6 separate regions of the Homo sapiens genome follow, and all the other regions are linked to region 3. Evidence: promoter capture Hi-C in 16 types of primary human blood cells and fetal thymus (Javierre and others, 2016). All regions are on one chromosome and are shown on one strand. Each heading gives the region's core, a stretch centred on a gene start or on the middle of the fragment in contact. The rest is flanking DNA. Distances are from core to core; before and after follow the strand shown. Region 1 holds the start of GNAQ (G protein subunit alpha q). Region 2 holds the start of CARNMT1 (carnosine N-methyltransferase 1). Region 3 holds the start of HNRNPK (heterogeneous nuclear ribonucleoprotein K). Region 4 overlaps SECISBP2 (SECIS binding protein 2). Region 5 has its middle 5.0 kb from the start of PSAT1. Region 6 holds the start of RFK (riboflavin kinase).

Region 1 (4,680 bases), core at 674-3,173, 5.9 Mb before region 3:
TCAGGCCCGTTACTGCAAAGCTGTTTGCTCTTCCTGCCACAGTAGCTCAGGGTTCTGTCACTGTGGCTTGTATATGAACCCTGATCGCTTGATTCTGAACATCCTCCCAGAGATAATCATCAATAAATTTCTATTTGAGAAATGGCATTTTCTTGCTAACTTAGTGTTGAAGCAGAATTTTTTTTTCAAGACTAGAGGGAAATTTTTCCTGTATGCTTCCCGTTTTTCCTTCTCGCCCAGATTCCAAAGACATTAAAATGCTATCTGTTTTAAACAAAAGGTTTCTATTTGTTGCCAAGAGAGTAACTGAGAGACTGCACTGGTTTTCGGTAGTAACTATTGTGAACTGAGGCCTACATCTAGGTTGCCTCATTAAACAAAAGATACCGGTCGCTGTCAACAACCACACAGCACAACGCTCCCCTACCCTCATCTTTATCTAGAAGGAATGGTGCAGACGAGAATAACGCCTGTCACCATCCACTGGCCAACTCTTCTAGGCTCCCTCCTTTCGATGGTCTGGTGGCTAGAGAACAGCACTTGTGTGACACATTTGGGCTTGCCCTCCCGCCTCGCCCCCAGTACACAGACCCTTTCCTTGGAGGGCCAACCACTTGGCTTCCTCACCATGAGTGCTCCGGGAATCCAGCTGCGAGTCTGCCCACCGTTCCCCCATTCCCTCCTGACCCCATAGGGCACTGATAATGGATGCACACCGGCCACTCCACCGCAGGCCATCCCCCAACGTGCCCCGGCTCCGCTCGCCACCCGCTGGGCCACACACACGGCTCCCCACGCCACCACCCCATGGGGTGCCGCGGCCACGACACTGGAAGTTCAACCCCTCTGCCCACCTTTCCACCCCCGCGCCTCTGGTCGGAGTGATCTGCCATTTAGCAGATGCACAGCAGATAAGGTACAGCCCTCAGGGACACGAAAAGGAACAAGCCAAGGCACCGGGCAGGGCAGCCCCGACCCCTGTGCTGCGTGTGTGTGTCGCTGTGTGTGTGTGTGTGTGTGTGTGTGTGTGTGTCTGTGTGTAACGCGCCCGCGCGCCCGCGCGGGTGAAGGCAGTGGCCGGGGGCGCGCCCGGGAGGGTAGGGGCGAACCGCGGGCGCCGGGGGGCGGGGGCGCCGAAGGCAGCTGCCCCGCAGGGCCAAGGATGGTGGGCTGGGGGCGCAGAGGCCCGGCGGGGCCCCGGACGGTACTCACCGAGCAGCAGCAGCTTGAGCTCCCGGCGGGCGTCCCGCTTGTCCCTGCGGAGCTGCCGCTCGATCTCGTCGTTGATCCGCCGGGCTTCCTTGGCCTCCTCGCTCAGGCAGCACGCCATGATGGACTCCAGAGTCATTCTTCCAAAGTGCCTCCGCTGCAGCCCCGCCGGCACCCCCTGCTCACAGCGCGCACACACACCCTCCCGCCCTCGCTCCCCCGAGGCAGCGGTGGCCGCCGAGCCCCCGCCGCCCGGGCGCGCGTCCGGGACGAGCTCCGGGAACCGCCGCGGGGGCGGCGGCCAGGGCCGGGGCCACCAGGTGGGCCGGGGGCGCGGTGGGAGCGGATAGTCTGGGCCGACGGGAGAAGAGAGGCGGGCGCGGGAGGCGGGCGCTGGCTCGGGGGGCGCGTGAGAGAAGGCCGCCGCGCCCGGCCTCGCTCAGACGCCCGCGCCTCCTTCCCCGGGAACAGGCGGCCCGCCTCGCCCCCCGAGCCGCCGCCGCCGCCGCCGCCTGCGAGGCTCCCCTACGCCGTGCGCCTGGCGGCGAGAGCTCATTCACCGGGGTGTCCCCGCAGCGAGCGGCCGCCGACGGCTCCCCGCGCCCGGCGCGCCCGCTCCTCGCCGCCGCCTGACACGGCTCCCGGGCGCCCTCGGCCCTGTCCGCGCCCACCGCCCGGCTCGCGCGCAGACCCGGTTCCCGTCCCGCCCGGCAACCGCGCGCTCCTCCGCCTCCGCCTCCGCCCCCGCCCCCGCCAGACGCCCACCCCCTGCCCCGATTGCCAGGCGCGGAGCGGCTGCTCAGTGCGAGCCCTCCCCCTCGCCACACACACACATTTTCTTCTTTCTCTGAACTGGAGCACAGATCCGGGAGGGAGGAGGCGGCGGCGAAAGGAGGAGGAGGAAGAGGCGGAGGGGATGGGCGCGGGAGGAGGGAGCCGGGAGGCGGTGCCGCCCGGCCCCTCCTGGAAGGCTTTCCTGGGCTCGCGGCCGCCGCGGCGCGCCTCCCAGTGCGGCTCTCGCCTCGCCCGCGCGGCTCCCGGGCTGGGCCGGCCCCCGCGGGCTCTGCGGACGCCTACTGCTCCCGCACCCTCGGCAGAGTCCGCGGGCGCAGCAGTCACGGCCGCCCCCGGCCGAAGTCGGGGCCAGACCCGGCCGCCGACGCGCAGCCCGAGCCGGCGGCCGCCGTTGCGTGCCAGGGCCGCAGCCGACCTGCGGCTGCCGTCCGGCCGGGCGTGGTGAGACAGGAATATGGCGGCCTCTGCCTGCCTCAGCCCACCGGCCCGGGAGCGCGGCCGCGGCCCCTGCTGAAGTCGCGGGAGGCGGCCCCGCGGAGCCCCGCACGCGCTCCCTGCGGCGCCGGCGCTGGCGTCCGCCGCTCCCGGGCTGTGCCTGTCTGCTCCACGGGGTCGCTCCTCAGCCGTTTCTGTGTTTCCCGTTCCTATTTCTAAAACGCCATTCGGTTAGAAACTCTCACGTCACCTCTGACACCGGTGCAGTCTTAGAAAATAAGCTCCTCTATACTGTGTGGGGCTACTGGGGAAGGGAAGGGAAGGAATTGGCACCGGTGCCCAGAGGTGTAGGGGGAGATTCACAGGCGAAGCTGTTCGCAAAGTAACGTGAGATAGAAATCTAAATCCTGAACAGAGAAAGGAAGCTGCCCAAGTTTCCAAGAGCCTCCCGATAGGTTCCAACTTTTCATGCCTTTGTTTTTTTGGTGGTTGTTGGTTGTTTTTGTTTTTTTAAGTTGTTTTTGTTTTTGTTTTACAAGTTCTCTTGTTTCTGAGAAGGCACACGATGTTTAGCCGCCGAGTAATCGAATTTACTCTTCTAGACTGAGATTGAATTATGGATGACTTATGGGAAAATGTAAAATAATGTGGAATAAAAGGAAAGGAAAGAATGAAATAGAAGAGAAACTAAGGAGGCCCCAGCAAAACGGCATTCTAGTTTTTTTGATTTGCAATATGTGATTGAGGCAGTAAACTGTCGTATGCACATTTCATTGTGATCGTCTACTGATAAATAGCACACGAAAATAATCTTGTTTAATCAGGCCCAGGAGATGAAACTCATATTGCTTCCTGCCTTAAAGGAACCTGAGGTCTTCAAAGAAAATTGTCTTTTATGAAGAGAACCGCTTTTTCACGTTTCATGTGTTCTCTGAAGTGTCCCTGGTGCAACCTGCTGATCCAGAGTGTAAGGTACGGTCATGACTCTGCTTTTGCTACAGATCAAGAACTCATATAGGGTTCTTAGACAACAGGTGTGTAACTTCCTTCTTTCTTTCATTTGCCATTACTCCACCGTTTCACACACATACACACACTCTAAACCACGATTTAAATCAAGCAAGTCAAGATATAAAATATATATTTTAGGTTCTCTGTTTAAAACCTAGAAAATAATTAAATTTCACCTTGCCCTGGAGAGCAGAGAGGGCAAACCTCAACCCTTTTATGTGAATGCCTACAGAGAACAGCTAGACTTGCTATGAAATTAAAATTTAAAATCAAGTGACTAAAGAAATTAAAGATTGAAATTCAGTATGCAAAAATAGAAAGTGGCTTCAGAAGAAAAAATTTTAAGTTTGCATCCTCCGAATATATGTATGTATATGAGCTTTGGAGAGACACAGAACACTGGAAAACCAAATGACAGAAAGCTTGAAGTCTCTGGTTACCTACCCAGGGATCCTCTGAGACTTTTAAAAATGTCTTTTAAAATGAGCCATCAGGCTATCAGGTAATATGTTTTGACTGAATTGTCCTATTATTTGATGAATTCATCTGTTTCAGCGGGCTATAGAGTCAGAGTCTGTTTTGTCCCCCCTGTATCCCCCCAACATCATGAACACTCCCTGGCAACTTAGATACTTAAATGGATGCAATGAATCAATAGGAGAATGTTTCAAGTATTGGGGAGAAACCAGGAAGTAAGAAAAACCAACACTCTACAGTGATAAAGCCATATATGGGTGTCAAGAAGGAAACAGGAAAAGAAATTCCAAGTCTGAGCCCAGATCTATCCAAAAACCTTTTCATATTATCTGGAGAGCGTTTGCCAAGCAAATATTCCTAGAGACTAAGTCAAACAAATAGAACCCATGCAGAAACAACTGATAGTTGACCATGTTCTACAAGCACATACTCTAAAACATGCAACTAAACAGGGATTATGTTACAAAATCCCAGTTCATTCAGTCAACAAGCATTTATTCATTGCCTACTATGTGTAAATAACAGGTGAAGGTACAGGATAAGAGAGATACTAAAATGAATAAAATACAGTCCTTACCCTCCATAGGCTTATAGTCTTATAATGAGGCTCTAAGCAGCTATAATACAAGACTAAAATCAATTTGTATAAAATTTGGGGTGGAAGTAACAACATAAAGGTATAAAAAGGAAGGGGAGAACTGGAAAAGATACGGCAGGAAAAGGGGCATTGACATGCATGTTAAAGAATGAAAA
Region 2 (4,829 bases), core at 1,326-3,825, 9.0 Mb before region 3:
CACTATTTGATTACACAAAGCCTAAGGCTCCTTCCATTCAAGGGCAGAGTTGATGAGTTGTAACAAGAGACCACTTGGCCTTCAGAGCTTAAAATATTTACTGCCTGGCCCTTTTAAGAAACTCTGCCAAACCTGCTTTGAAGGAGTATTTTACAAAAATCAGACTCTCCTTGGTTCTGAACTAAGTCAGCATCAGGAGGTGACATCCTCTTGCTGATAAGAGGAGAAAGTAAACTTAGTAGCCATTTTTCCCCAATGGTGGTATCTCTACCTCTAACTCTCTCTAGAAACCTGGTGTCAGCAGTGACCTCAACTCTGATTTAGTCACCTGTCATCAGGGTGAGCCCACACCAGGTCTGATCTAAAGGCCATGGTCACAGGCCCATTCCTCTGCACCTAGTTGAACTACTCTAGGAAATCCAAATAGAAAAAACATAACTTGTCAGAAACAAAGCCTGGCCTGTCTTGATTCATTTTAAATCTTTATTAAATACCTAACATTAAATTTGTGTTACTAGTATAACTCCTCATTAATGCACAGTAAAATTTTAGGTAACGATTTTGGATTTTAGGTCAGATTCTACCACAACTGGATTGTGTAACCCTGAGCAAGTTGCTTACCGCTTTGTGTCTATCCACATCCTCACCTGTAAAAATCAGTTCTAAATCTCAATATTAAAAAATCTCACCCCGTTATTTCTAAAAGTAAGAAGTTTCTGAAAAGACTTTCAGCTTTTCAACTCTAGTGTTTTCTATGTGCTGAGGTGCTTCATTCGTAACAAGACTGGGTTATAAAACTAACATTTTTGCTATTCAATACAAATGAGCTATATCCATTTTTACCTTAATGAGAATGTCATCTAAGCAAAATCTGTGGGAATCACAAAATTGAAACCCATTAGAAAGAGAAAATATTAATCAAAAGACATTCCTTGCTTTATGACCTTTTATCTAAATCTCCTACGTATTAACTAAAAGACATTTTGCAGTAAAATTGAACCCTGCAAAATCTGGACGTACAGCTGACCCTTGAACAATACTTGGGTTGGGGCACCAACCCCCTGTGCAGTCGAAAACCCACACCTAACTTTGATTCACCAAAAACTTAACTACTAATAGCCTACTACTGACCGAAAGCCGTACCAATAACATAAACAACTGACAGATATGTTGTATGTTAATATATTACGTACTATATTCTTACAATAAAGCTAAGAAAATATTAAGAAAGTCGTAGGAAAGGGAAAATACATTTACACTACTGCACTGCATTTATCAATACTATAAGTTTACATAATTTGATTACAAGATGAATCCTCTGTCTGAAATGGGGTTGGGGGGCAACCTCCAACTGCAGACCTCTATCTACAGTACATATCAAACAAATCAACTTTTTCTTGTAATGTCTTTTTTCTCTGCTTCTTGGGAGCACCTGCAGCATCACCAGTGGCACGTCATATGGGACCCATGGTGTTATTTAAGGTTTATGGTATTGCATTAAATTTGATGAAATCTGTTTACTGCTATATGCAATTTACTTGACAGACAAAAGCAGAGTGATTATTTTAAGAAGATACTGGTAACATCTGAGCTTACTGCAAAAGCAACAGGAAGTGGCTACAAAATTATTACAGTAGTACAGTATCTACTACAGATAATTTTATGCAACTAAGATTTAATGCTACATCTTTGCTTGTTTACATTTATCTCAATTGCAAATAGCTCCATGTAAGATCTGTGTTTGTGTAAGTTTTGATAAATTTTAACTTTTTATAATAGATTTGTGTATATTTTATGGTAGTAAATGATAAACTAGTATCTACACATATGCATTCATGGCATAATTTTTTCTTAATTTTTTCACTATTTCTAGGCTATGCAAGTTTGCTAAGTTTTTCAAATTGTTGCAAATGTCAAAACAATTTTCCAATATGTTTATTTCAAAAAATTTGTGTATAAGTGGACCCGTGCAGTTCAGATCCATATTGTTTAAGGGTCAACTGTACTTGCTAAATGTGTAGAACCGGATTGTCCATCACAACCTACTTCGATAATGGAAAAGCTTTTATTTGCACTGTCCAGTACAGCAGACTCTAGCCACATGTAGCTATTGAGCACCTGAAATATGGGTAGTGAAACTGAGCAACTAAATTTTAAAGCTTATTAAATACTAATTAATTTTAGCTTAAATTTATCCAGATATGATTAGTGGCTACAGTTTAAGTCTAGAAGATCACAAAATATTAGAATGTAACAATCCACTGTTCTCTGCTACATAAACTTTCTGTACCCCTAGGCTTTAAGTGACATTTTAAAAAGCATATTTTTGATGTTATACTATTTTCAGCCCAAGTATTTGAAGTGTTTCAAGAGAGTATATACAAATAAAAACTGTTTTTTTTAAAAAATGAAATGTCCTGAATCCAACATTACGCTGGTAAAGAAGAGAGTATAGGAAATAGTATCACAACCACTAGAATATTCACACAAGATCTCTTCTCTATATTGCCACACTTCAGTTCCTGATCAACCCCTACCCCAACAAAGTCCCATCCCATACTTACCCATAAATATCAATTTTAAATTGGTCCTAATATATTAAAAGTAAGTACAACTACGCACTTAACTAAATGGGTCCACCATATTCCCAAGACATTTCCCAATATTCTTTCTAGATTTTTCAAGAGCAAAATGTACCAGACTTTTCTGTATCTCCCACTCTTAGCTATCTGATGTTAGCTGCCTTTCCTAACTTTATGGTTCTTTCCGTCACAATTCCTGCATCAAATTCAATTCTCTGATGGTCTGACGCCTTGCTCCCTCTGTTACTACTAAACCTGGAGAAATAAAATATCCAAACTTCTCTTTTGGGCTCCGTAAAGTAATGCTGTCCCTGGTCCCTATTTCTGGGTTTAATCAGTAAATTATTTCATCAAGATCTTCGAAGTTCAAAAGTTCCTATCACATATACAATCAGATTCCAAATAACTTTAAGCTTTCACTAAGCAAGCTTCTAAATTCAGACTAGTAAACTAATTTAACTATCAGTCAAAAACTTGACAGACTATTTGGGAATGAGAAATGTATTTCTTTGCTACTATTTGTTTTGTTAAAAATAGAGCTTAAACAACATATGCCAAGCACTAGTGACATAAAAATAAAAAAGACTCAGCCCCTGCCCTTGAGGAGGTCACAGCAAAGCAAGAGATTTATAAAAACAACTATAATACATAAGATGAACAATATAAAAAAACTTTGCATAAAGCACAGCAGGAACCCACCTATGGGAACAGGTTTACCTGCGTAGGAGGTCATGTCTGTCTGATTCCAACTGCAGCCTCAGAACATAGTCACCGGTGGACTCATATCTCTTACGTGAATAAAAGTGTTATCTTCACCTGAAAATCCAGTTGATTTAAGTCCCTTTCAGCTCTTGGAATTATAATTTTGTGATTAAGCTACTTTAACATCTATCTAGAAGAAACGTGGAAGTTAGGGAGCTGTTTTTATGAATGAGGAGCATAAAGGTCCTACCACAGTGCCTAGCACACCAGGGAGAATTAGATACAGATTTGCAGAAAAAAAGAACGTAAAGGCAGCTCTTATTGTGACTTCTCTCATCTCTCCTAATAATTAGCAAATTTTAGAATATCCGGACCACTTCCGCCCTTAATCACCCACCAGTTAAAGACACTGAGCAGCATCATTCAATCGCTCACACAAAAGTGCAAGTGCGTTCACAGCGCCAAAGAGGGGTGGGTGGAAATCTTAAACTGCTCTTACAAGCACTGGTAACAGTTTGGGAAAATACGTCCTACAGCATCCCACGCGTAGGTGAACTTGGGCTCTCCGTGTGTTCAGTTTGGAGGACATCGACCACACACACCAATCAGCCCAGCAGTGGACGATTGTACCACCATCGTCTTCTATCTGAAATTGTTACAGCGCTTCTCTGGTCACCCCCATCGGCCTCAAAGCCAAACCTTTACGAGGACGGAGGCAGGAGAGCTAATCTGATCCTGAGGTCAGAAGACACGAGGCTGTGCAGCAGACGGCGCGGCGGACACGCGGGTGTGCAGGGCCGGGAGGGGCTGGGGTGGTGCGAGGTGACTCGGGGCCCGGAGGTCAGCTGCAGCAGCCGGGTCCCGACGCCTCGGAGGCGTGGCGGCGGGACGGCGAGCGCCCCCGTTCCGGCGGGTCCGCCGCCACCAGTGGGCGCCCCGACGGTCTGGGCCGGGGTCCGCCACGGGCTCCTTACCCGTAGTAGCGGAAGGCATTAATGATCTTCCAGAAGTGCTCACGCTCAAGCCTCTCCTCCTCCTCCTCGGTGCTGCGCGTGGCCGCCGCCGCTGCCGCCGAAACCGCCGCGGCCGAGCCCCAACGCCCGGCGGAAAACTGCACTTCCACCTCCTCGCTGCCACCGCCTCCTCCCCCGCAGCCCTCGGGCAGCCGGGAGGTGGGCGGCGGAGGGCGACGCCGTCGCTGCATCGCCGCCGCGGCCCTCGGCCTGGCTCGCTTGCGTCTCTCCGCGACCGACAGCGTGGTGGCGGCTGCTTGGCCTTCCTCTAGACGGCGCCCGCCGCGGACATGCCCCCAGCTCGCGGCGCGCTCCGCCCCCGCCACCCTCAGGCCTCCATCCGCGCTGGGCTCCGCCAGGTCTTCAGGGCTCCCAGAACCAATGCGCATGCGTGTGCCTTGGTACGCGGAGGGCCCGTGCGGTCTGCGCTCATTTGCTGCCGGGCTTCGGAGACAGCGCGCTGACGTCACAACCACGCTTCCAAGGGCGGGGCCAAGGCCCCTTGGTGGGAGGCGGAGGAGGAGCTCGTAGG
Region 3 (4,985 bases), core at 342-2,841:
AAGGGAGCCTGGTTTCATTTTTTGCTAAGTTAGAACAATAACTTTTAGCCACTGGATTAAGTCCCACCACAGCAATGAATTGTTTTATACGGCACATTCCCAAAACCCTGAAAAGATAAATGTCATCCACAAAGCATACATTTATGAAAAGTTACAATGCATCTTATTCACTGGGAAAACTAATTTTATATTAAAACTTCCAATTGCTTTCCTATTTCTTTCGACTCATGCTTGAAGCGATCTTATGTGACATCTCTAAAGTTTACAAATACAACGGCAATTGCGAACACATCCAACAACCAGAACAATCTACCGGAGGGATAAATCCAAAAATCTAATATAGGACCAGACCCAAACTACCACAATACCAGTCTATTATTAATCAGCGAAACAAATGGAGCCCTTGAAAACTAACAGTCACTAGCGGATTATTTTAAATTAGGCTTAAGGGAGTACAACACAACAATCATGCCTGTAACACGAAAACTAAAGTGTCTACGTGCCAAAACGGTCGATAGGACTACAAACAGCCTTTTTAAGCTTCCCTCTTGTCGGGACTAGGAGTTGACAAGCGGCCTCTACTAGAAGGTTGGCTAGACAGCAAAGAGCCAACAAGCGAGGCACATTTATGCCTCCCATTCTCCCATACCGTTGGTCGACTTATTGCTCTCCTAACGACAACTGAAACGACATCCTTCCGGCCCAGCACGCAATTTCTGAGGTGTGGTGGGAGAAGAGTTGGATAAGAAAGTTTAAGCAAAAACAGCAGGGCTTATCTGTAAGAATAACGTTGCCGCTTGCCGTTCACCCTTCGGGTCCTGCAGTCACTAGTCCCCAGGCCTCAAAAATCCGCTAAGTATGTGCTCCACTGGCCGAGCGCCAACGCGCCCTCCCCTCCCCGCCTCCCGGCACCGAGATCAAAAACAGCCGGGTAACAGGACGGGAAAAAGCGAAAGTCGACAGCAGAAGCACCGCACCTCTCCTCACCCGGATCCGACAGGAAATGGCGGCCCGCGTAATGGCGACTACGTGCTACTAGGCGGAGCCGAGCGCCGACCCCCTCCCCCACCCACCACGCGGTCCCGAGGTCTCATCCCCCGCATCCTCCCCCCACTGCCCGAGACAAAGCCATCGAGGCAGCCCTGACCGTTCCATCCCCGCCGCTCCAGCTCCGACCCCGGGCCGGGAGACCCAAGGTGAGGCGGGGCTCACACAAAGAGAGCGGCGGCGCGACCTTCTCCCCGCACCGGCCTCCTTTCCTCCACGAGGTCCCTAGTTCCCAGTGCCACATAGCTCCAGCTCATCCTAGAGGCACATGCCTCACGAATCCCCAAGTCTCTAGGACCACAACGCGGACTGCGGATACACGCTCAGGGAAATGGCGGAGGTGGGGGAGGGGACACCGGGCAACGTTCCCACTCGGAGAAGCGGCCAAACACCAAAGCGGCTCCCAGGACGCCTCCCTCAAGCGGAAAAACTGGGCTCCGACCCTCACCTCCACGAGCCGCTCCCCCAACCCGGCTCCTCACCGCGCGAGACTGCCGTCCCTCCGCTGCCGCGCCGCCTCAGCCGGTCGGAGCTAGACAGAAAACGAGCGCAGGCTCCCCTCCCCCGCCTTCTCGCGTCCTCCCCGCCGTCGCGCCCTATTGGCTGCCAGGGCTTCAGCGATGGTGCGAGGGCGAAGCGATTGGCCCGAGGCCACGTCAATCAAGGCGACGGAGGAGGCGACAACCCCGCCTCCCGCCAGCGCCTCCCTTCGGGCTGGGAGGCCACTAAGGGCTCGAGAAAACCCGGGCTTGGGAAAAGTAAACGCAGCCTTTCAGGGAGCCCCAACCCTTACCCGAATCAGCAATACCCAAGCTCCAATAACTCCAATTACCTATAGGCCGCGAACAAGTGGGACACAGGCAAGACGTCGAGGTCGGTGCAGCAGAGAAACAGAGGATAATGGCGTCTGCAGTGCTGTCGCCTGGAGCGCCCTCCTCCTTTCTCGTTCGCGCACTCACTAGCTGGGGGGAGGGGCGGCTAGGGGGCGAACCTCTCGCGAGATCTAACAACTGCCTAGTTCACGCGCACAGGGAGGGGGCGGGGAAGGGGCGTTTTCCAGCCCCGAAGGAGTCCTTTGGGGTTGGAGGAGGGGCGCGAGCGCGCGGCAAATCGGGCGGGAAGAGGTAAAAAAGGAACTGGGAGCGCGCCGCGGCGGTTCCTGTCCTTACAGTTGCGCTGCCCAGGGACCGATGTTGCGCGAGGAAAATGCGGGACGCCCAGGTCGGTGCTCGGCCCAGACTTATGCCCGTGTTTTCACAGCCCACACTCGTGCCCGAAGCCCCTTACCCCGCCCCGGGCTGTGGTCTGTGGGCTGTGGGACGAGCTGCGGCGCGGTAAGTGCGGGCCGTCTGCGTCCGCTGGGCCGGGCCCACGCTTCGGAAACCCGTTGTTTGTAATGGTCCGGGGCGCCCGTCAGTCAAGGCCGGGCCCGGGGGCGCAGCTGGCGGTTCTCGGCCTGCCTTGCGCCGGGGCGGGAGCCGGGGAAACGCGGGGCGAGCCTGGGAGTACTGGAGAACTTCTCGCCGAGAGGGCACAGGCGGTTTCACAGGGCTCTCGGTTCTGAGACTTTCCTCTTGGGTAATGGGACCTGAGATGGAAGTATTTTGTAGTGTCGTCGCTGTAGTTTATTCCGATAAAATTTTTAGGCAATATGTATTGCCCTTGTCTCCTAAAATGAATGCGTATCGCTGAATACGTTGCAGACCTCCACGTTCCATTCAAAGCGCCTGCCTTGTGGCAGTGATGAAAACAGACAAAAACCCTTGCCCTCAAACGTGCTCCTGTTCTAGCGGGTTCAGCGCACACTTGCATTGTATTCGGTTCCTTACTTTTAAGGCTCCTGTGCCAAGCTTTCATGACTTCCTTTGTTAAGGCACATAAGGTCACTTTCAATCGGTGACAGCCCTGGGAAATCTCCAGCCCTGGTAGTACCCGCTTTCCACATCCTTACTCGTCAACCTTCCAGCCTCCGCCCACAATCCCAAACTCATTTTGAAGCATAAAGGTGTCATAATCTGCACATAAAGCGAAATCCACCATTGGCCGAATACATGCATATATTTTAGTGTTGATGAATTTGTGCTGATTCATTCCTGTTATAATGTTTCCTTCTTGGGTAATTTGCAAAACATATATACCAGCATTCTTTTAAATGGCCATGATTGCATCCACCCAGCATCTTTTACTTGACTGATTAGAGGAAAACTCTTGTTAGGGCGCACTGAGGATTTCATGACAAACACCAGTATTTACATTCTGGGAGGATACGTTAACACATGCTGTTAGAACATAATGTCCGGGATTGTGGAATTTATAAAAGTTCTCTTTAAGTGATAATATAATTTTTTAAATGGTCCCCACCATGAAGAGTGTATAGTCTTGTTGGGTAGGTAAAACTTAACTCGCATTTCAGTTCTAAAACACAAAGTTCAGAATTTTATTAAATATTCAAAACTGATGAGTTTATGTAGGGGCTTAGGATACTTGGATTATAGAGATTTAATCCGCCAGTTAGTATTTGCAACATTTAATTGAGTTTGTCATTTAAAACCTGAGACATGTCACTGACACTAATATGCACAAATAGCGGTACGGTAATGATGATGCTGTGCTTTCTTTCAAATTAGGATTTATGTTGCAGTCATCATTTTCTTGATAAGGAATGATGAGTGGGAATCACAAGTAAGCAGCCCTATATAAGAACCTCTTCCGGCCGGGCACGGTGGCTCACGCCTGTAATCCCAGCACTTTGGGAGGCCGAGGCGGGCGGACCACAAGGTCAGGAGATCGAGACCATCCTGGCTAACATTGTGAAACCCCGTCTCTACTAAAAAGACAAAAAAAAAAATTAGCCGGGTGTGGTTGCAGGAGCCTGTAGTCCCAGCTACTCAGGAGGCCGAGGCAGGAGAATGGCGTGAACCCGGAAGGCTGATCTTGCAGTGAGCCGAGATCGCGCCACTGCACTCCAGCCTGGGCGACAGAGCGAGACCCTGTCTCAAAAACAAAAACAAAAACAAAAAAAAAAACCTCTTCCTCCCAGTTTCATTGTCCAGACTGGACCCCGACTGGTGTAAATTATTCATCCCCTCTAGATGCCATTGTGGGATGGTTGCTATTTTTCCCCCCATTTGATTTCTTCTTTACGTCTTTTTAATTTTTAGGTTTGCTCTTTAAATAACAGGAAAGTCTTTTTTCTCCATCCTTTTATTCTCTGTTTGAAATTAAGACTTTTCAACCCAATAATTTTATACCTGTGTTCATTCAAGAACTTAACAATACATTCATTGACTCCAGTCTTGTGTAATTGGTACAATGGTGTAATGGTGTAGTGATCACTTTGGACTCAGTGAATTTAGACCCAATATTACTTAGATGGGGGATTTACTTTAGATGGGCTAATATAATTGAGAATGTACACTATCCAGCTGCATTATTGTTTAAAATAGTATTTATAACTACTATTTCCTGAGTTCCCCACTGTGTGCTAAACGTTGTGCTGGCAGTTTAATACTTTTTAGAGTTCTTTGAGCAAGTTGTTAGTTATCTTTGTTTTGTGAACGAATGAACTAGCACTAAGAGAAGCTAAGGAACATATCCAAGGTCACATAGCAAAATGGGGTTCCAGATTCTCTTTCTGTCTTTTCCTTACTTTAGGTTATGGAGGATCCATAAAAATCTCCTCTGATTACTTCTTCTAATTTCAGTCATATACGGTATAAATTTTTCCTCCCTAATTTTCGGAGTATCTTCTCAAAAATTCCAGGATTACCTTGAACTCATCCTCAATGAATTAAAATGTAGACTTACCTTTATTGTTTAGATGAAGATAATGGAACTGTGGAGTAGATTTAAATATTCGTTAGTGCTTTTAAGTCTCAGCTATTGTCAGAATGACACACGTAAGGTCCAAAAGGATGACACTCCTGCCTCGCTTTTTA
Region 4 (4,943 bases), core at 1,948-4,447, 5.3 Mb after region 3:
AGATGGAGGTTGCAGTGAGCCAAGACTGCGCCACTGCACTTCAGCCTGGGCAACAGAACAAGACTCTCTCTCAAAAAAAAAAAAATAGTTTTCTTAACTCTTCTTTTTTAGCTTTGGTTTATGACCAAGGAAAAGTATTCACGCCTGGCAAGAAAACAAGGATAAGGAAGGCATTAAGTTGAAGAGGAAGAGTTAGAAAGGAAAAGATCCTTTAAAGTGGGGATGAAATAATGAGACTTCACATGGTTGAGAATTGATTATCTGAGCAGTTCTAATATAGATTAAAAATTGCATTGCCATAGTCAGATTACATGTAAATGGAGATCTCTTGCTGCTGTGACAAAAGGAATAGAAGTTTCTGAAACAACTATTTCCTCCTTCTTACTTGTTCAACTACATAGCATCCTAAGTCAACTTTGTATGTCCCCTTCCCTCATCTTTCCTTAAAGAAGGTATAGTAACCTTTTACAGAATTTGTCCTCCTCCAGTACCTTTCACAGTGCACTCAAAGATGCTCATTTATTCATTTGGAATTAATTATTGAAAGTCTTCCATAGTTTTGAAGTGATGGAGATGAAAATGAACATACCAGACTCTTCCATATTTATGTTATAGGACAAGACAAAGAAATTAGAAGTAGTCTGATAGATAACATTTGCCATGTTTGGAAAATACTGATTATTTACTGATGTAATGAACAAATTTGCCTATGCAAACAAAATAAGTTTCTTCCAAGTAATGTCCATTGTCATGTTACATCCTTTGTGAAAAATCCTGTGCAACCTGTGTATGAGGATGTGTGCCTTTTGTTTGGGTATTATTGTATACTTCCACTTCTTTCATAGTTACTACAATCCATGAGGTGGCAGGCAGATGTAATGTTATTTTGCACATGGGAAACTGAAGCTAGGAATGTTTGTTCATGCTAATTCAAATAGGTAGCACCAGAACCAGAATTAACGTGCTATTCTTCAAAATTGCTGCTGCTATTGACAAGAGGTAGTTGAGCATTTTCACCATCTGCCAATATACTGTGAAAATTTTAGTACCAATTGATGCTTTTGAGTTAAAGCAGATCAGCTATGAGAAGAACTAGTGGTATACAACATTGTACAGCTGAGCACGTGGCTCGGTGGGTGGAGGAGAAACTGCATCCCCTTTGGGTCGTTGCCTGACTGAAGGGACCATGTGCATGATATGTTTGGGAGATAGTAGAGGAATAAAGTGATAATTTTGGGGGGAAGCTGTCAGTAGATTGGAAGCCTGCATAGTACAGCTGAAAAGTTTTAGGTTTGCTGGGTAGGCAATAGGGAACTTTTGGTAGTGTCTTAAATGGGGTCATTGTAATCACTCCTAAATTTTGGAAAGATTTTTAAAGAAGAGGGTCTTGAAGGCTTTGACCAGGTTCTAGGCACTGGAAATAGTAAAGAAACTACATGAGAGAACTGTTGAAATAAAAAAGAGCCCCATGATTGTCCGTACAGGTTTTGGTGGGAAAGATGTTACAAAAATATTCGGTTGAATACATGGAAATAATTGTAGGATCATACATGAGAACAGAAGTTGTAAATGGGGCTGTTTTGGGGAATGGATGTTAAATTTGGGATTTATACGTGCTGAATTGGGAAAAAGTGAAATAGTAAGTGGAAATGACCTGAAAGTTGGAGATGGAGGCCTGGACTAGGGAAGGTGCTGGATTGTTTATATTTATGTCAAGTCCTAAGCAGAAAGATAAGAGGTTCTGACCCAGAATGTGTCAGATGGGTGAGATAAGGAGGGTGTAGAGGAGACTGCACTAGGGAAAGAGACAGAGATAGAGCCTTGGAGGGCAGGTGAGAGCCAGGCGAGCAAAGTCCAGGCCAGGGAGCTTTTCAAGTCATGTGATGGTCAAGCCAGACCCAACGGGTGCCTGGAGGGAGAGGCAAGAAGGAGGTCCTGGGAGACCTGGAAGCCGTTGGTGGGAAAGGGGCAAAGGGAAGTGGAGCCAGGAGACCAGCAGGTATTGCACAATTACTCAGACAGTTTGATTTTAGTATGGATGGGGTAGCTTAGGACAGTGAATGAGAAACAGGTGTGTTACTGTGGGTTTAGGGTCATCTGGGCCACTCCTGGCATCTGGAATTTCCCAGACATGCCATTTGAAGCCACGCCAGATGCTGTGAGTTACTGCTTTGATGTTTTGTATTTTGTGTTGTTTTCTGCATGTAATTGTGTTTGCACTGGATGGAAATGGAAAATACCAACTTTCCAGAGGAGGAAGGACCAGTGAGGGGACAGAAACCCAAATGACTTACCCAGAATAGAAAACTGGATTGTGATTGAGCTAGGACCCCAACCAAGGTCTCCTGACTCCTGGATGAAAATTTCCTGGATGACAGCAGCCGTCAAAACCAATGGAACCTGTCCCTGCTTTCCTTTTTAGCTACATTTCATTTGTCTGTTCATTTATCTATTTATTGGACTTGGGACAGTCTTTTTCACATTTTTTTTTCTGTCAACTCATCTTTTATGAAGAACAGATTATCCACCTTCAGTGACACTTGCCCCCCACTAGCTTTTCTCAACTACAAACAAAATACAGCACAGAATTCACAGGAACATGTAGGCAGTGGGATGAAGCTTTGAGCCTCTTTTCTACAAAGAGCTAGTCCTCAGTGCTGTATGTTTGGAGCAGTGCTAGGCCAGTTGTTTTGTTGGACAGACAAAGGTCAGTAAAAAGGGGTTTATTTGATTTTTAATTAGGAATATTTCATGTTAAAGTTACTTACCTGTAAGTAAAAGATCTTAGAAAATCTAAGTTAACATATCATGAAATAGTAAACAGTGAGATGAGAGAATATATGATTAAGTACTGGATAGAAGTGAAAGCAGTAAACGTTATTATATTATAGGTAGAGCCTGTAGTCTCCCTTTCTTATTCAGTGTAGTCTGTTACTTGCAGCGCATTAGAAATATGATTTCTAGTAAGCGGTGCTTATGCTCATATCTCCTGACAGCGTAGCAGTTTGAAGGTCTTAAAGGGTGTGTCATGACTAGGTTTGGATTTTTTGCCTTTCAGTGTACTAGTACATTTTGGAATAGCTCCGGAAATTAACAGAAACATTTGCTGGAAGGAGGAGGTTACTATTTGTATTTTAAATCAGTTGCTTAGCATTTTGTCATTGTATCAGCTTTCATGGGAAAAAGGTTGAAACCTGTAGCCTTGTATCAAATTGGCTAAAAAAGAAAAATTAGTGTTAAATTATATTTTGGTTTAGTCTAGCAGCTTGGGATAAATTGAGGCAATAGCAACCTTCAAAGCTGGTGTCCATCTGTTAGTAAAGTGTGTAGTTAACATCCACGGTGCCGTGCGGTGTCTGCTTTGCGCTCTGACCCTGTTAGTCAGCAAAGCGCAGGATGTCATGGTGGGCTTGGAGCAGGGAAGGGCTGGAGAAAACCATTTGCAGGAGCCTTGGTGGAGGCATTGCAGGCTGTTGGGTCTCCCCGCAGCAGAGAGAATGGTCTTTAGGGGCATTTTGGCCAGGGTTGCTGGGAGAGGCTTTCCCAAATACTTGGTAGCAATTGGGTGAAAAGCTGCTGGAGCATCTTCTGGCTCTGTTGATGTTTCTTACGGACTTCCAGCTCATTAGTGAAAAAATAGAGTCAACATCTTTCTTTGCAGGGTGAGAAAGAAACACCCAGAGATTTTATTTGGCTTTTAATTAGGGATTATTCCAGTGCTAGAGTGAATGGTCTCAGAAATATTAAATGTTCAGTTTGAATTAGTTTATTACAGAAAAGCTTCTTGGTTTGCAGTATGAAATCTGCAACTAAAGTTTACACTTTTTACTTAGGCAGAAAATATATACTGAAGACATGGCCTTTGGAGCTTCAACTTTTCCACCTCAGTATTTATCTTCTGAGATAACTCTTCATCCATATGCCTATTCTCCTTATACCCTTGACTCCACACAGAATGTTTACTCAGTGCCTGGCTCCCAGTATCTTTATAACCAACCCAGTTGTTACCGAGGTTTTCAAACAGTGAAGCATCGAAATGAGAACACATGCCCTCTCCCACAAGAAATGAAAGCTCTGTTTAAGGTGAGTAGTGATGTTGTTTTGTTGTGTCCTTTAGTTGGTTGCTTTAATGTTTAAAATGTAAAGAAATGGTAAATTTGTACATCATATTTAAGTATCATGTATTTTTTTGTATTTAACCTTTTAAAAAATGATTGAATTGTGAATACTTAATATTTTGCTGCTTTAAACCTTTTTTATAGTGGTGGTTTTATTTCATGTTGCTTTTTAATCTTTCCTGCAGAAGAAAACCTATGATGAGAAAAAAACGTATGATCAGCAAAAGTTTGACAGTGAAAGGGCTGATGGAACTATATCATCTGAGATAAAATCAGCTAGAGGTTCACATCATTTGTCCATTTACGCTGAGAATAGTTTGAAATCAGGTAAAAATAACCAACAATGTAGTATAATGCGAGCCTACTCCTTGTGCCCCAGAAACATTCCTGCTATGTATACAGCTGTTTCTATGGGCTTGTTCATTGTGACTACTCCAAGAAATGAGACCTGGGTCTGACACAGCTTAGGGCGTCAGACTTCCTGAGCAATTCTAGAGGTATTTCTTCCCAGGGATGGGATTATTATTTGGTACCTGTTGCATTGTGGGATCTTAAGTGCCTATAATTTGTATTATTTGGTATATACATTTTTCTCTTTTCATTGACTTCACTCATAAACCATCTGGTACAAGGGACGTTTATTAACTGTAGTAACTGTGGTCTTATAATTAAATGAGTGGCTTCATGTAGCTGCAGCCTACCTTATCCATTGCATTTCAGGAGAAAGATGGGGAAGAGGTTATGCGTTTTATGCTACCTGCTTCCCTCTAGTTTATTCCAGCAAACTGAAAGATGGAAAGTTTACTAGCACAGAAAATTCATTAG
Region 5 (4,413 bases), core at 963-3,462, 5.7 Mb before region 3:
TGCATCTAGTGCAAGCTGAATGGAGGTGAATTATTTGGTGTATTCGTCCACTCTCGCACTGCTGAGAACTACCTGAGACTGGGTAATTTATAAAGAAAAGAGTTTTAGTTGATGCAGAGTTCCATGGGCTGTACAGGAGGCATGGCTGGGAGGCCTCAGGAAACTTATGATCATGGCAGAAGGCAAGGGGAAAACAAGCACGTCTTAATATGGCAAAGTGGTGGTGGGTGGTAGGGGGAAGTGCTGTACACTTTTAAACCATCAGATCTCATGAGAACTTACTCACTAGCACGAGAACAGCATGGGGGAAATCTGCCCCCATGATCCAATCACCTCCCACCAGGCCCCTCGCCCAATATTGGGAATTACAAATCAGCATGAGATTTAAGTGGGGACATAGAGCCAAACCATATCATTTGGTAAGCTTCCACATGCAGCTTCACTCAGCATTGAAGAAACTGAGCTAGAATCCTAATTGCATGGCGACATGTTAGGACTCGATGAGGCCTTCAGCCTTGGCAGAAATGACTTGTGGGAGGATGGGCCTGAAGAACCACAGGCTCTCAAAGGGTGCAGAGTGGCGTCCTAGGATCTTCAGGGGTTTTTGGTGGTCTTATGCCTATCCTCACCTCACTCTTTTAGAATTATCAACCCAGCAACAGACTGTTAGCATTTTCATTAATTTCCTTCTTCCTGCCCTGTACATTCACTCAAGAAATATTTATCAAGCACCTAATATGCTTGATGCTGGGGATACAGCAGTGAAAAAGGCAGGTGCAGTCTCAGCTTCTCTGGGAAGTTATGGTCTAGTGTGGAAATGGACAACAAACAAGTACTATTGCAGAGGCTGGTGAGTTTCCAGAGAAACAAGCAAGGGCTGAGCCAAGAGATGACCAAGAACCAGGCTAAGTATGGTCTTGTGGGCCCATTAGGAGTCTGATTGTTGTTCTAAATGTAACGGGAAGCTGTTAGAGGACTTTGAGCAGAGGAGCTACATGATCTACCTTACGTATGTTTTCAAAAGTTCACTGTGGTTGCAGTTTGGAGATTGGATTCTAAGTCAGTGATGTCAATGCAAGGAGTCCAGGCCCAGGAGTCTAGAAGAGATCATGGGAGCTTGGACGAGGCAGGCAGCATGGAGATAGAAGTCGATAGAGCACAGAAAAATTGTGAAGCAGAACAGATTGAATTTGAGAATGAGGAAAGATGAAACCTCCTTTGAAACTCTGCTGAAAGGGGTGCAGGATAATTAATAATAATAAGCAGTTTTCTGTCTCTAGGGGTGAAGACATCAACTTTGGAACAGACCTCTCCTTGTTTTAGCAGAATTATCACAATAGGTATAGTATATGTAACCTCATTCTTTCATTCAACAAATCTTCACTGTATTCAGTACAGTAACATGCTGTATAGGCTTAGGCTGTATCATATAGCCTAGGTGTGTGCAGGCTGTGCCATCTAGGTTTGTGTAAGCACACTCTATGATGTTCACACAACGATGAAATCGCCCAAGGATGCATTTCTCAAAACATATCCCTGTTGTTAAGCGATGCGTGACGGTACTTGTTGAATGAATGAATCTGAACACATCTGTTGATGTTCTGGTTTGGGACTATAATTTGTTGTCTAAGTTTGAGTAGAATTTGTGACTCCAAGGAGGTGGGCTTAAAAAAATTGTTTTTGGAGATAGTTAATTGTTGTGCTGATGAGAAGCAGCTTTTTCTTTCATTTTGATATTTCATATGAGGCGTATTCTTACGTCATTAAAAAGTCTTCACACACACCCTGCTTGGATATGCCTCAGATGCACACACCACAACATGCTGAGCCAGTCTTCCCTCCCCTCCAGCTCCCTCCCCTCAAGCCAGCTGCTCCCCTTGCCCCTGCCCAGTTCGTTTTGATGGTTACAGAAATGCCTCTCACCCCCAGCAGCTTTGAATTCTTGTTATTTTTAATTAATCTTTGCTGCCTTTCTATACAAGACATAAGCCAAACAATACAATTAAATGACAGTCCCTGCTTATCTCTGAGGCAGTGTGCGTGGTTCTTTGGAGCTGGCACTCAGTTTGAAGCATGAGAAAAAGAAGAGGAAAAAGCAAGACTTTTCACATCCTGAACTGGCTTCTGCTCCCGTCATCCCTGAATTTTCTCTCTCTGTGCTTTGCCTTAGTATTTCCTCTGGCCTCATAAAGAAAAGGAAAGAACAAAACAACCCACAGATTATTAACTCTACAAAAGTCGTTCTCAAACAGCCTGGATGGTTGTCTGAAATAGGCATGTGTTGACTTTGCACAGGTGGTGAAACGAGTGGTCTGTGGCTAGTTTTCAGGCTTCCATGTGGAACCCTTCTGTGAGGCAGCCCTCATGAAGAGTGCTGATCCCAAAAATGCACACGCGTATGAGCAGAGCCAGCGGGGCTGGGAGTGGAAAATACCAGTGTGTAAACACGTTAGAGATGGTGCCAGGAGTTGTGCCCCTTTCTCTAAAAAAAAAAAAAAAAAAAAGTTAAATAAATTCTGATGCTTTTTCCACTTTGAAATCTTTTAAGGATGTAAGAGGTAGAAGCAGTGTGCATCCCCTGTGTAATTCTGCCCACTAGTCCACAGAGAGCGTGCCTCTTAAATAACCTCTTTAGGGATTTCACTTGTGCGGAGCTTAAAGATCTTTTAAACATCTATACTAATCTTTAAAAATAAAGCAAAATGAGGCCAGGTGCAATGGCTCATGCCTGTAATCCCAGGACTTTGTTGGACCAAGGTGGGAGGATCACTTGAGGGCAGGAATTCGAGACCATCCTGGGCAACATAGCGAGACCCCTATCTCTACAAAAAAAAAATGAAGCACAATGGGTATACCTTGAAGACATTATGCTAAGTGAAATAAACCAGTCACACAAAAGGGCAAATTCTTATGATTCCACTTACAGGTGGTACTTAGAGTGGTCAAATTCATACAGACAGGAAGTAGAAGGGTAGTTGCTGGAGCTGGGGAGTGGCGGGAGTTATAGTTCAATGTGTACAGAGTTTCAGTGTGGGAAGATGAAAAGGTTCTGGTGGTGGATGGTGGTGACGATTGCACAAAAATATGACTGTACTTACTGCCACTTAACTGTACACTTGAAAATGGTAAATTTTATGTTATGCATATTTTGTCAATAAAAAAATGAAGCAAAGTAGGCAAGGAAATAAACTGAGGTAAAGAGAGTAGGATGGATATCTTTTCCTATCTGTTGGGGTCAGAATAAAGAAAGTAATAGGACTTTGACTTTTGGTTTCTTTTTGCTACATAAACTATGATTACTGCCTCTCTCCCACTTTTTAAAATTGTTGTTTGTTTTTGAGACAGGGTCTCACTCTGTCACCCAGGCTGGAGTCCAGTGGCGCAATCTTGGCTTATTGCAACCTCCGCCTCCCGGGATCAATCATTCTGTATGACTCCGCATACAAGAGGTACTTAGAGTGGTCGGATTCATAGAGACAGGAAGTAGAATGGTGGTTGCTGGAGCTGGGGGCAGCAATTCTCCTCCCTCAGCCTCCTGAGTAGCTGGGACTACGGGTGCGGGACACCATGCAAGGCTAATTTTTAATTTTTTTTTTTTTTTTTTTTAGTAGAGACGGGGTTTCACCATGTTGGCCAGACTGGTCTCAAACTTCGGACCTCAAGTGATCCGCCTGCCTAGGCTTCCCAAAGTGCTGGGATTATAGGCGTCAGCCACTGGGCCCAGCTTCCCTTCCTCACGTTCTCTGGGAATAATGATAAGGGAAAAGGATCTTTAGCTCCAACTACAAAAAGGGCAGCAGAAATAATCTTGTCTCATTCCAAATAGATTTTCTCCCCTGCTCATGTTGCCTACTTCTCTTCTCACTGCTCTCTAAACAGGATGGCTGGGTCTGATTGGCAATCGCAGCAGAGCCCAGCATCTTTCACATATAGAAGTACTCAATGAATAATACTTGTGAAAATTGAATTTCTGCCTTTTTACGAAATATGTATTTCATAAAGAAGCTTCTTTGTACTTGCTAAATGAGAATCTACTAAGAGGGAAGGATCCCTCCCACATGCAGGGGTTCCTCTGGACTGTCTTTTTTTTTTTTTTTTTTTTTGAGATGGAGTCTCACTCTGTCTCCCAGGCTAGAGTGCAGTGGCGCGATCTTGGCTCACTGCAAGCTCCGCCTCCCGGGTTCATGCCATTCTCCTGCCTCAGCCTCCCAAGTAGCTGGGACTACAGGCGCCCGCCACCATGCCCAGCTAATTTTTTGTATTTTTAGTAGAGACAGGGTTTCACCGTGTTAGCCAGGATGGTCTCGATCTCCTGACCTCATGATCTGCCTGCTTCCGCCTCCCAAAGTGCTAGGATTACAGGCGTGAGCCACCGTGCCCGGCCTGGACTGTCTTTATAGATCAGTGCAAAAT
Region 6 (4,758 bases), core at 113-2,612, 7.6 Mb before region 3:
ATAAAGTACCAGGTAAGTATATAAAGCTCTCCAAAAAAATCCATACTCTTTGAGTAGGATGCAAAAAACAAGTACCAGAGTAGATGGATTTTTTCAGATCTGTTCTTTCCTAACCAGGTACTGAATCACCTGAAAAGTTTCTTTCTTTTTTTTTTTTTTTTGAGACGGTGTCTCACTCTGTCGCCCAGGCTGGAGGGCAGTGGCACGATCTCGCCTCACTGCAGCCTCCGTCTCCTGGGTTCAAGCGATTCTCCTGCCTCAGGTTCCCGAGTAGCTGGGATGACAGGCACGCGCCACCATGCCCAGCTAATTTTTGTATTTTTAGCAGAGACGGGGTTTTACCATGTTGGCCAGGCTGATCTCGAACTCCTGAGCTCAGATGATCCGCCCGCCTCGGCCTCCCAAAGTGCTGGGATTACAGGCGTGAGCCACCACGCCCGGCCAAAGCTTCTTATTTTTCAAATACACAAGCTCAAGGCTGACTTAACAAGTCAAGACGCAGCTCTGGCATGTATTTCTAAGGATGAATTACAGTCAGGTCTCGATTATTGAAATTAATGTAGACAGACCAAGAAGGTTAGCTGACTCTCATTCAACTACCTATGTTATCATTTGGACATTACATAATTACAAATTAAAAACAAAACCACCTTAGACCCGGCTTGCGAGTTCAGCCGTTCTGGCCCACGTTACGTCTCTAATGGGCAAGACAAGCGCAATGCTTGACCAACTGTACCTTGGCTGGCCAAGGAGGCGTGAACGGGGAATCCTGCGATTCATCTCGGGCTTCCGGCCCTCACCACCCCTCAACCCCGTCCCCGCGGAGCTCGGAGCCAGAAGCAGGGACAAGCTCCCTCAACCGAGCCAACGGTCCTCCGCCACAGACAAGGGGATGCGGGAGGAGGAAGGGTGTGCTCTCTGCCCGCGGTCCGGAGGCCCCACGCCCCGGTCCCAAGTCCCCGGCTGCCGTCTCTCCCCGCTCCCCACGTGACCCGGCCCGGGGGACTCTGGCCGCCCTGCTCTCACCTGTGGGGATGCCCAGCTGCTTGGAGCCGCGGCCGAAGCCCCGCACCACTTGACCCCGGCAGAAGTAAGGCAGGTGCCTCATAATGCAGTCCGCTCGGGGAATGGGCTGCGGCCCGGTCTGCGCGTCCTGCGGAGCCGCCGTCGACGCGGCGCCCAGACCCCGGACCAGCCGGGGGACAGGAGCGTGAGCTCTGCCTGCCGCGGGGGCGCACCAGTGGCCGGACGACGCCGACCACAGGCCACTGCGAATCCCTGACGCCGCCGACCCAACAAATACCGCCGGGCGCCTGAGGAGCTGCGTCTCCGCTGGAGGGCAGCGGAGACAGCCGAAGTAAGTGCCGGGTGTGAGCGGGGTGGGGGGAGGGGGCGGCCCGAAGCGCAGAGCCGGCCTCCGCGCCGCCGGCGTGCGCTCCCTTCCTCAGCCGAACGCCTCGAGCCCGCTCGGCTTCCGTAGCCCCGCCCCATCATGGCCCCGCCCCGCCGCTGCCTCGCCCGGCTCCCGCCGCAAGCTCCCGCTGCAGGCTCCCGCCCCAGGCGCCTAATGTCTGGATCCCGGGCTTCGTTTCAGCCCCTGGCGATGGGAACTAATGTGGAAACCCCGTTTTCAGCCTGAGAGCCGCGAAAGCACAATTCTCGAACAATTCTGGTTTTTTTTTCTCCTTCCTCCTGTTCATAACAATCCGGAAGCCAAAGTGAGACGCTCTTTAGCTCCTTGGCAACCGCTGGGTTGAACGTCAGGCATCGCTCGTTCCGTTCGCTCTTTAAGTATTTATTAAAGCTCCAAAATTCAGCTCAAAGATCGCCTCTTCACAGAGGCTTTTCCTGGCCGCCCTACCAGAAGCGGTCGTCCTCCAGGACCACTGACCACGTTCTGGAGTTATTAATATATTCGAATGTAAGCTCCAAGGGAGAAGTCCCTGTCTGTGACGCTGTTAACCCCAGAGACTAGTGGAAGGTTACCGACATGGGCGGTGACTGTCCCCTCCAGGCTGTCTTCTTGACAATTTCACAAGCCCGATAACAGGCCGTCCCTCTACTGCAATGCAGATAGAGGCCTTCGTACCCTCGGAACTGTAAATACGCACGCTCCTAGGGAAGTAGCTCTGGGCTCACTCACAGGATATGCAGGGTGCAAGGTTATAAGAAGGTGCATCCTCTTAACGTCTCGAAGACAAAGAAGTTTTTTATTTATTTTTTTAAATTTTTAATCAATGGAATCCAGAGAAGTTTAATTTTTTTCTTTTTTGCTCTATACATTTGTATAAAATTCTGTGCAGACCGTGTAGTCTCTTTCTACCTTACATGTATGCATCTCTGATAAGATTTACCTGATATTAAATTTATGTTCTAGGCCAGGCTTGGTGGCTCACGCCTGTATTCCCAGTAGTTTGAGAGGCCGACGCGGGAGGATTGATTGAGCCCAGGAGGTCGAGGCTGCACTGAGCTATGATAACGCCACTGCACTCCAGACTGGGCGACACAGTGAGACACCCTCACCCCTTAAAAGAACTAGAGAAGAAGAAGGAAGGGAGGGAAGGGAAAGGAAAGGGGAAGGGAAAGTGAAAGGGAAGAAAAGGGAAGGGAAGGGAGAGAAGGACCCAAAGAAGCAATTATGGTCAGTTACTTATCTATACGGAATTAAACAAAGAATAATGAGAATAACGATAATAGTAATACCGGTAGTAAGAGTAGTAATAGCAAGTTGTGAAAAGCAATTAAGTTATCTGGAGAGGCTTAAGAGTTATTTTAGCAAGGTGTGTACAGGATTCTCTCACTCTTGACTCCCGTCCTTAATAAGAGTGCTGCATTCCTTCTAATATAGGGAGGATGTCTCTCATATGGTAATTTCATCTGCTTCTAAGAAACAGAAAAGAGGTCAGAATGATTTTTTTGTATCTATTGTTTTTCAAGTGCTTTTAATTCAAAATAGTCAATATGCAAGAATGGTATATTTTTAACTTCATCAGCAGTGATACACCTAATAAGAAAAGCCTGGAGGTGAGAACTTGATAAATCATCCCTGGGTCTTACGCCACTAAGCCCTAGGTTGCAAGAAGGTATGAGAATTAAATGAGATAAAATAATTAAATGAATCATAGGAGGTAAATGAGGAGGGGTGGTTTTAAGAATAGAGAAAATGCTAAGTATTTTTCACACTGTCTCATGTAATCCTCTCATCAGCTTTGTTGGAAAGCATTAACCTAAACGTATAAAAATGGGCGGGGCATGGTGGCTTACGCCTGTAATCCCAGCACTCTGGGAGACCGAGGTGAGCGGATCTCTTGAGCTGAGGAGTTCAAGACCAGCCTGGGCAAAATAGGGAGACTTCCGTCTATCCAAAAATTTTAAAATAAAAATAAGTAAGAAAGAGAGAAAAAAGAAAGAAAAGAAAAGAAACAAGAAAAAAAAGAAGAAAGGGGAAAGAAAAGAAGAGGAGAAAATAAGAAAGAAAATTTTAAAAATCAGCCAGGGCCTGGCACAGTGGCTCATGCCTGTAATCCCAGCACTTTGGGAGGCTGAGGCCGGTGGATCACTTGAGCTCAGGAGTTGGAGACCAGCCTGGGCAACATGGTGAAACCCCGTCTCTACAAAAAATACAAAAATTAGCCGGGAGTGGTGGCGCTCACCTGTGGTCCTAGATACCCTGGAGGCCGAGGCACAAGAGTCGCTCGAACCTGGCGGCAGTTGCAGTGAGCTGGAGATCACGCCACTGCACTCCATATGGGGCAACAGAGCGAGACTCTGTCTCAGCCAGGTGGTGGTGGCTCGTGCCTATAGCCCCAGCTACTTGGGAAACTGAGGAGTGAGGATCGCCTGAGCCCCAGAATTTGAGGCAGCAGTGAGCTGTGATTGAACCACTGCACTCCAGCCTAATGACAAAGCAAGACACGGTCACTAAAAAAATAAATAGGCCGGGCGCAGTGGCTCTTGCCTGTAATCCCAGCACTTTGGGAGACCGAGGCAGGTGGATCACCTGAGGCCAGGAGTTCAATACCAGCCTGGACAACATGGCAAAACTCGGTCTCTACTAAAAATACAAAAATTAGCCAGGCATGGCAGTGAATGCCAGTAATCCCAGCTACTCGGGAGACTGGGGCGGAAGAATCGCTTGAACCCAGGAGGCGGAGGTTGCTATGAGCCGAGATTGCTCCATTGTACTCCAGCCTGAGTGACAGAGCAAGATTCCTTCTCAATAAATAATACATAAATAAATAGATAGATTTAAAAAAAAAAAGGAGAGTCTTGTAGAATGTTTAAGATGGAGCAGTCAGGCTCCAATCTTTAAAACTACCATTTACATGTCAAGTCATATGGGTAATTACTGTGTTATCAGCATAGGATATAGAAGAAAGAATTTTTTTTTTTTTTTTTGAACCAGAGTCTCACTCTGTCACTCAGGTTGGAGTGCAGTGGCGCAATCTCGGCTCACTGCAACCTCCACCTCCCGGGCTCAAGTGATTCTCCTGCCTCAGCCTCCCGAGTAGCTGGGACTACAGGTTTATGCCACCACGCCCGGCTAATTTTTGCATTTTTAATAGAGACAGGGTTTCATCATGTTGGCCAGGCTGTTCTGGAACTCCTGGCTTCAAGTGATCCACCTTCCTCGGCCTCCCAAGAAGGAAGAATTCTGATCATTTTCCACCACCGCTCAATAGCGTTCAATGGCTCCTCCCCTCTGACTGAAGAATAAACCCTCCAAGAGTTGTACTTCTAAGAACTCCCATCAAGTAC

What was found. The method cuts DNA at HindIII sites, captures the fragments that hold promoters and counts their contacts. A CHiCAGO score of 5 or more calls a contact.
Region 1: the fragment with the promoter of GNAQ here is called in contact with the fragment with the promoter of HNRNPK in region 3 in 1 of 17 cell types (fetal thymus); the score reaches 8.0 in fetal thymus.
Region 2: a fragment that was not itself captured here is called in contact with the fragment with the promoter of HNRNPK in region 3 in 2 of 17 cell types (activated CD4 T cells and naive CD4 T cells); the score reaches 9.2 in activated CD4 T cells.
Region 4: a contact is called between a fragment that was not itself captured here and the fragment with the promoter of HNRNPK in region 3, in 1 of 17 cell types (total CD4 T cells). The highest score is 5.7, in total CD4 T cells.
Region 5: a fragment that was not itself captured here is called in contact with the fragment with the promoter of HNRNPK in region 3 in 3 of 17 cell types (activated CD4 T cells, naive CD8 T cells and total CD4 T cells); the score reaches 8.6 in activated CD4 T cells.
Region 6: the fragment with the promoter of RFK here is called in contact with the fragment with the promoter of HNRNPK in region 3 in 1 of 17 cell types (non-activated CD4 T cells); the score reaches 8.2 in non-activated CD4 T cells.

Annotation. Positions count from the first base shown.
Region 1 is chr9:78,029,888-78,034,567 of GRCh38, forward strand. It overlaps GNAQ (G protein subunit alpha q), which reads right to left and starts at 1,924. Exons shown (of 7, transcript NM_002072.5): 1 at 1,213-1,924. The coding sequence starts at 1,348. RefSeq lists an enhancer at 1,113-2,007. The HindIII fragment of the contact is 11,535 bases long and covers 1-3,870 here.
Region 2 is chr9:75,023,754-75,028,582 of GRCh38, forward strand. CARNMT1 (carnosine N-methyltransferase 1) reads right to left here and starts at 4,540. Exons shown (of 8, transcript NM_152420.3): 1 at 4,259-4,540. The coding sequence starts at 4,488. RefSeq lists enhancers at 329-378, 3,372-3,421 and a silencer at 4,072-4,761. The HindIII fragment of the contact is 836 bases long and covers 2,158-2,993 here.
Region 3 is chr9:83,978,624-83,983,608 of GRCh38, forward strand. It overlaps HNRNPK (heterogeneous nuclear ribonucleoprotein K), which reads right to left and starts at 1,592. Exons shown (of 17, transcript NM_031263.4): 1 at 1,530-1,592. It overlaps RMI1 (RecQ mediated genome instability 1), which reads left to right and starts at 2,182. Exons shown (of 3, transcript NM_001358291.2): 1 at 2,182-2,268. RefSeq lists enhancers at 866-1,025, 1,846-1,895, 1,855-2,362, 1,936-1,995, 2,126-2,195 and 2 more and silencers at 1,566-1,705, 2,516-2,595. The HindIII fragment of the contact is 2,357 bases long and covers 539-2,895 here.
Region 4 is chr9:89,321,594-89,326,536 of GRCh38, forward strand. It overlaps SECISBP2 (SECIS binding protein 2), which reads left to right. Exons shown (of 17, transcript NM_024077.5): 3 at 3,834-4,083; 4 at 4,304-4,445. Among named protein-coding and RNA genes, the nearest start is that of SECISBP2, 5.6 kb to the left of the region's middle. The HindIII fragment of the contact is 1,161 bases long and covers 2,618-3,778 here.
Region 5 is chr9:78,289,888-78,294,300 of GRCh38, forward strand. No RefSeq gene overlaps it. Among named protein-coding and RNA genes, the nearest start is that of PSAT1, 5.0 kb to the right of the region's middle. The HindIII fragment of the contact is 3,581 bases long and covers 423-4,003 here.
Region 6 is chr9:76,393,064-76,397,821 of GRCh38, forward strand. RFK (riboflavin kinase) reads right to left here and starts at 1,363. Exons shown (of 4, transcript NM_018339.6): 1 at 1,027-1,363. The coding sequence starts at 1,108. It also overlaps a transcript of GCNT1 not described here. RefSeq lists enhancers at 634-1,447, 1,310-1,604, 1,782-2,021 and silencers at 812-1,301, 1,342-1,421, 1,442-1,501. The HindIII fragment of the contact is 5,359 bases long and covers 446-4,758 here.